Regions from separate parts of the Homo sapiens genome. Here region 2 is linked to region 1. The links are contacts of gene promoters, found by promoter capture Hi-C in human tissues and cell types (Jung and others, 2019). All regions are on one chromosome and are shown on one strand. The core of a region is centred on a gene start or on the middle of the fragment in contact, and the rest is flanking DNA. Distances in the headings are between cores, read along the strand shown. Region 1 holds the start of ZNF559 (zinc finger protein 559). Region 2 overlaps ZNF562 (zinc finger protein 562).

Region 1 (3,587 bases), core at 353-2,852:
GGAGTCTCGCACTGTTGCCCAGGCTGGAATGCAAGGGTGCAATCTTGGCTCACTGCAACCTCTGCCTCCCAGGTTCAAGCGATTCTCCTGCCTCAGGCTCCTGAGTAGCTGGGATTACAGGTGCCCACGCCCGGCTAATTTTTTGTATTTTGAGTAAAGACGGGGTTTCACTATGTTGGCCAGGCTGGTCTCAAACTCCTGACCTCGTGATCCGCCAGCCTCAGCCTCCCAACATGCTGGGATTACAGGCGTGAGCCACCACACCTGGACTAAAGACATTTGTTTTACTCGAGCTACAGATGTTCTCTAGATCAGTATTTGTTTTTTTTTCTTCTTTTTGAAACAGGGTCTCACTCTGTTGCCTAAGCTGGAATGCAGTGACACAATAATGGCTCACAGCAGCCTCGACCTCCCATGCTCAAGTGATCCTCGCATCTCGGCCTCCAAAGTGGATGGGACCACAGACACCACCATGCCCAGCTAATTTTTTATTTTTAGTAGAGACAGAGGCTTGCCCTATTTTTTCCAGGTTGGCATCAAATTCCTGGGCTCAAGCGATCCTCCAGCCTCAGCCTCCCAAAACGCTGGGATTACAGGTGTGAGCCACCTTGCCCCGCCCTCAGTAAGACTTTCAAATGAGTAACTGGTAGAAAACCCACCTGTCAAAAGTTATCTTCGCATTCATTATCAATTCAATCCCTCCTGCTAGTAAATCAGCCCGCACCGTGTTCCTGGGGATGCCCTCGTTTTGAACCTCTGGGGGAATCTACAGGGCGCTAGAGTGAGATCTAGGTGATGGCCTGGAACCACAGTTGAGTAGTCCTGTGTTTTTCCTTGGTGGTAAATTTTACAGTTATGTGCATTCATCCACTCATGCATTCGATGGTATCAGATCCATGTGCTCTCGAACAACCACCTGAAAAGGTTTCTTTCCACCTCGACACAACTTAAACTTCAAGACCCGACACCCACAGCCAGAACAAGTGCATGAAGTGCTCACCGGGACACGACAGAATTGTCAGGTTGCTGAGGCCAGGAGGACACCAAGCGAAGGTCACCGTGAACAGGAAGGCAGAGATGCTGTTCCTTATAGAGAAAAGGCACAACGCTGGATGTGGAGACTTTTTTTTTTTTTTCCATTAGAGATGGTTGGGGGGGGGGGTCTCCCTATGTTGCCCTGCCTGGTCTTGAACTCCTGGCCTCAAGTAATCCTCCTACCCAATCCGCCCAAAGCGCTGGGAATGACAGGCGTGAGCCGCCGCGCCGGGCCCTATGAGGCTTCTGCAGAGGGGAGCAGGGAAAATGGAAAGGCCGTGCCCCCCGCCTCCTCCCGGGCCGAGGCCCCAGCGCAGCCGCCTCGACCCCTGAGGACAGACCTGACTGTGGCTCTCAGAGGAGGGGCCGCGACTTGGGAGAGCCCACAAGATGCTCGAAATGCCCGAAAGTGCACGGGACAGGCTCCATTTCACTGGGCACCTCCCCTTTCCACCCTTCTACTCTCGCGTGGCTGCACCGGGACACCACCGAACGCCGCCCAGAAACAAAAACTTACCTCAGACGCCAACGGGAACGCGCTGTTAAGATGGCGGCCGTTATGCGCATGCGCCCACGCAGACACGCCGCGCACGCGCAAAGGCTAGGACCACCTAGGGGGCGGGGCCTCGGGTTCCCGGGCCCATCAGCTGCTGCGGCTTTTTCCAACCCAGAGCTGAGAGGAAATGCTGTTTACCTCCCCGAAGAGCGCAAGTGTCACCGGTAGGGGGTCTTGACTGCAAGCTGTCCAGGTTACTGGCGTTTTGAACAAAGAATTAGACAAAACGCCCAGCAAAGCAAAGAAAGAATGAAGCAACAAAAGAACAAGAGCTGGGATTTGTTGAAAACGAAAGCATACTCCACAGTGTGGGAACTGGCCAAGCGGCAGCTCAAGGGCTCCGAAACAGAACCTTCATGAGTCCCAATACCTCCTAGAATTTTCCCATTGGCCACTTCATGCTCACCTCCTGTAAATGAAGCGGTAGCCCGCGTTCAGTCTGATTGGTTGCAGAAAGCAGCCAACCAGAGTCTGAAGTTACAAAGGTCACACTCCTGTGCAAACATCTGATTGGTTGCAAAAAGCAACCAATCAAAGGCTAGGGTGAAGTTACGACGTTACAAAGTTACACTTCTATGCAAATGAAGACTCAACCGGCCATCAGTCTGATTTGTTGCAGACAGCCAATTTCCTATCTGCCAGCAGAAAAGGTCAAAGGGAGTAGCCTCTGGTCCTTTTGTTATTTAGGCGAGGAAAGTGAGGGTTTTCCTTTCAATTTAGTTCTAGGAAGTCGGCCTGAAACAGCCTTAAGTTCCCTGCCTCCCGACTCTATTCAGCCTCACAAGGGCTTGATTTTTGGTCATCTCACACTCAGAGACTAGAATGCTCCTATTGGAATTTGTTCAAAAATTAGCACATAGAGGCTGGGCCTGATGGCTCACGCCAGTGATCCCAGCACTTTGGGAGGCTGAGGCAGGCAGACCACTTGAGCTCAGGAGTTCGAGACCAGCCTGGGCAATATGGCAAAACCCTATTCCTATAAAAAAGACAAAAAACACAAAAATTAGGACGTAGTTAAGAGCATAGATAAGATTCATGCGGACTTCCTAAAAGTGAAAACACCAAGATCTGGGGTCGGGGAATCTAAGGCCAATTCGTGATAATTTCCTAAAGTTAAATCAAAGGAAAAACACCTGGGGCTGGGGGCAGGGCACCTAAGGCCAATTAACACAAACTTCCTGAAGCTAAACCAAAAGGAAAAACCCCATCTCCCCAAGATCAAAGACTACTCTCTCTACAGTAAAAAGTAAAGTAGAGGTTCCTCTTCAAAGACTTTCCTGCCCATCTAATTAGGAATAAATAGTAACTTCTGTTAGAAGCAAAATTTATTCAAAGACCTGTACTAATGTGTCCGGAATTGGTGGGTTCTTGGTCTCACCGACTCCAAGAATGAAGCCGGGGACCCTCGTGGTGAGTGTTACAGATCTTAAGGTGGCACGTCTGGAGTTTGTTCCTTCTGATGTTCGGATGTGCTCGGAGTTTCTTCCTTCTGGTGGGTTCGTGGTCTTGCTGGCTCAGGAGTGAAGCTGCAGACCTTCGCGGTGAGTGTTAGAGCTCTTAAAGCGGCGCGTCTGGAGTTGTTCATTTCTCCCGGTGGGCTCGTGGTCTCGCTGGCTTCAGGAGTGAAGCTGCAGACCTTCGCGGTGAGTGTTACAGCTCATAAAAGCAGTGTGGACCCAAAGAGTGAGCAGTAGCAAGAGTTATTGCAAAGAGTGAAACAACAAAGCTTCCACGGCGTGGAAGGGGATCAAAGCGGGTTACCACTGCTGGCTGGGGCAGCCTGCTTTTATTCTCTTATGTGGCCCCACCCACATCCTGCTGACTGGTAGAGTCAAGTGGTCTGTTTTGACAGGGCGCTGATTGGTGCCTTTACAATCCCTGAGCTAGACACAAAGGTTCTCCACATCCCCACTAGATTAGCTAGCTACAGAGTGTCGACACAAAGGTTCTCCAAGTCCCCACCAGAGTAGCTAGATACAGAGTGTTGATTGGTGCA
Region 2 (3,587 bases), core at 600-3,099, 340 kb before region 1:
CCTTCTGGCCTCTAGTAACCATCAATCTGTACTCTATGCTCATGAGATCCACTTTTTAGCTCCCACATGTGAGAATATGGGGTATTTGTCTGCTGTGCTTGGCTTATTTCACTTCCATGATGACCTCCAGTTCTATCCAGTTGCTGCAAATGACAGAATTCCATTCTCTTTATGGCTGAATAATAATCTGCTGTCTATATATACCATATTTTCTTTATTCATTCTTTCATTGTTAGACACTTAGGTTGATTCCATATTTTGGCTATTATGAGTAGTGCTGCGGTAAACAAGGGAATGTATATATATCTTTTCAAATATATTGATTTCCTTTCTTTTGGATATATACCCAATGGGATTCCAGATCATATGGTAGTTCTATTTTTAATTTTTTGAGAAACCCCCATACTGTTTTTTTTGTTTTGTTTTGTTTTTTTTGAGATAGTCTTGCTGTGTCACCCAGGCTAGAGTGCCATGGCATAATCATGGCTCACTGCAGCCTTGACTTCCTGGGCTCAGGTGATCCTCCCACCTCAGCTTCCTGAGTAGCCAGGACTACAGGCCTCCACTAATACACCTGGCTAAGTTTTTTTGTTTGTTTCTTTGATTTTTTGAGACAGAGTCTCACTCTGTCACTCAGGCTGGGGTGCAGTGGCACGATCTTGGTTCACTGCAACGTCCGCCTCCTGGGTTCAAGCAATTCTCTTACCTCAGCCTCTGGAGTAGCTGGGACTACAGGTGCACGCCACCATGCCCAGCTAATTTTTGTATTTTCAGTAGAGACAGAGTTTCACCATGTTGACCAGGCTGGTCTCAAACTCCTGACCTCAAATGATCTGCCTGCCTTGGCCTCCTAAAGAGCTGGGATTACAGGCATGAGCTACTGTCCCTGACTGGTTGTGTGTGTGTGTGTGTGTGTGTGTGTGTGTGTGTGTGTGTGCGCGCGCGCGCGCGCGCTCGCGCGCGTGCATGCAGACAGGTCTTGCCAGTTTCAGACAGGTTTTGTGCGTGCATGTGTGTACAGACAGGTGTTGCTGTGTTGCCTAGCCTGGTCTGGAACTCCTGGGCTCAAGTGATCTCCCACCGCAGCCTCAAGTTTTGGGATTAAAGGCCTGAGCCACCACACCTGAATATTGTTCTCTACAGTGGCTGTACTAATTTATATTCCCACCAACTGCATACAAGGATTATCTTTTCACCATATCCTCATCAGCATTTGTTATTCCCTGTCTTTTTTATAAAAGCCACTCTAAATGAGGTGAGATGATATCTCATTGTGGTTATGTGTGATTTGTATTTCTCTGATGATTAGTGATGTTGAGCATTTTTTTGTATGCCTGTTGGCCATTTGTATGTCTTTTTTTTGAGAAACATCTATTCTGACCTTTTGCTGATTTTTTTATCGGATTTTTTTTGTTATCAAGTTTGAGTTCCTTATATATTCTGATTATTAATCCCAGGTGGATAGTTTGTAAATATTTTCTCCCATACTGTAGATTGTTTCTTCACTTTGTTGATTGTTTCTTTTGCTGTGGAGAAGCTTTTTAGCTTGATGTAATCTCATATGTTTGTTTTTGCTCTTGTTGCCTGTGCTTTTGAGATCTTCCCAAGAAATCTTTACCCAGACCAATGCCCTGGATTGTTTCCCAAGGGTCTTCCTCTACTAGTTTTATAGTTTCAGGTGTTAGATGTAAGTCTTTAATCTGTTTTGACTTTTTTTTTTTATGCTGAGAGATGGCATCTAGTTTTATTCTGCATATGGTTATCCAGTTTTCCCAGCAGCATTTATTGAAAAGACTGTTATTTTCCCATTGTATGCTTTTGGTGCCTTTGTTGAAAATGAGCTGTCTGTACATGTGTAGATTTGTATTTAGGTTCTTTGTTCTCTTCCATTGATCTATGTGTTTGTTTGTTTTTTTTATGTCAGTACCATGCTGATTTGGTTATGATAGCTTTGTAGTATATTTTGAAGTAAGGCAGTGTGATGATTCCAGCTTTGTTCTTTTTGTTCAGTATTTCTTTGGCTGTTTGAAGTCTTTTATTGTTGCATATAAATTTTAGGATTTTTTTTCTATTTTTGCGATGAATGTCATTGCTATTTTGATAACGGTTGCTCTTAATTGTAAATTGCTTTGGGTAGTATTGTCATTTTAACAATATTCTTCTAATCCATGAGCATGGAATGTCTTTCCATTTTTTTTCTGTATTCTCTACAGTTTGTTTCATCAGTGTTTTATAGTTTTCCTTGTATAGCTCCTTCACATTTTTGGTTACTTTTTATTTTCTCTTTTTTTCAGAGGTGGGGTCTCACTTTGTTGCCCAGGCTGGAGTACAGTGGTGCAGTTGTAGCTCATGCAGCAGCCTTGAACTCCTGGGCTCAAGGAATCCTCCTGCCTCAGTCTCTTTTGAGTAGCTGGGACTACAGGTGTGTGCCATCATGCCTGGCTAATTTCTTTTTTTTAATTGAGACTGAGCCGTGCCATGTTGCCCAGGCTGGTCTTGAACTGTTGGGCTTAAGCAATCCTTCCACCTCAGCCTCCCAAAATTCTGGGATTACAATTGTGAGTCATCATGCCTGGTGCTGGCATTTTATAGTCTTTGCAGCTATTGTAAATGTGATTACTTCCTTGATTTCTTTTTCAGATTGTTCACCGTTGGCGTATATAAATGCAACTGATTTTTGTATGTTGATTTTGTGTCCTGAACATTTACTGAATTCATTTATCAGTTCTAACAGGTTTTTGGTAGAGTCTTTAGGTTTTTCTAAATATGATTATGTCAGCTGAGCATGGTGGCTCATGCCTGTAATCCCAGCACTTTAGGAGGCCAAAGCAAGAGGATCACTTGAAATCAGGAGTTCAAGGTCAGCCTGGGTAATATATTGAGGACCCCTCTGCCCCCAGTCTCTAAAAAAAAAAAAAGTTAGCATTGTCACACATGCCTGTGGTTCTAGCTACTCGGGAGGCTGAGGCAGGAGTATCACTTGAGCCCAGGAGACCAAGGCTGCAGTGAGCTATGATCACCACTGCATTCTAGCCTGAGCAACAGAGGGAGACCCTGTTTCTAAGGAGAAAAAGGTCATGTCATTGGCAAACATGGCTAATTTGACTTCTTTTTTAGTTGAGATGCCCTTTATTTGTTTCTCTTGCCTAATTGCTCTGGCCAGAACTTATAGTATTATGTTGAATAGAAGTGGTAAAAGTGGACATCCTTGTTCTGTTCAAGATCTCAGAGGAAAGACTTTCAATTTTTCCCTGTTCAGTATGATGTTGGACGTGGGTGTGTCATATATGGCCTTTATTATTTTGAGGTATATTCGTTCTATACACAGTTTGTTGGGGACTTTTGTCAAAAAGGGATATTGAATTTTATCAAATGGTGTTTCAGCATCTGTGGAAATCTCATACGGTTTTTATTCTTGGTTCTGTTAATTTGGTACGTCACATTTATTGATTTGCATATGTTGAACCATCCTTGTATTTCTACGATGAATTTCACTTGATTGTGATGAATGATTTTCTTAATGTGTTGAATTTGGTTTGCTAATATTTTGGTGAGAATTTTTGCAGGTATGTTCATCAGTGATATTG

Evidence for each region. Contacts are between HindIII fragments. The study calls those that stand out against the background at their distance.
Region 2: a fragment that was not itself captured here is called in contact with the fragment with the promoter of ZNF559 in region 1 in 2 of the 25 tissues and cell types used here (adrenal gland and dorsolateral prefrontal cortex).

What each region holds. Positions count from the first base shown.
Region 1 is chr19:9,322,194-9,325,780 of GRCh38, reverse strand. ZNF559 (zinc finger protein 559) reads right to left here and starts at 1,602. Exons shown (of 7, transcript NM_032497.3): 1 at 1,553-1,602; 2 at 1,001-1,086. ZNF559-ZNF177 (ZNF559-ZNF177 readthrough) reads right to left here and starts at 1,602. Exons shown (of 13, transcript NM_001384659.1): 1 at 1,553-1,602; 2 at 1,001-1,086. RefSeq lists a silencer at 1,199-1,338 and an enhancer at 1,509-1,758. The HindIII fragment of the contact is 8,356 bases long and covers 1-3,587 here.
Region 2 is chr19:9,667,085-9,670,671 of GRCh38, reverse strand. All of the region lies in intron 1 of ZNF562 (zinc finger protein 562), which reads left to right. Among named protein-coding and RNA genes, the nearest start is that of ZNF562, 6.2 kb to the left of the region's middle. The HindIII fragment of the contact is 8,758 bases long and covers 1-3,587 here.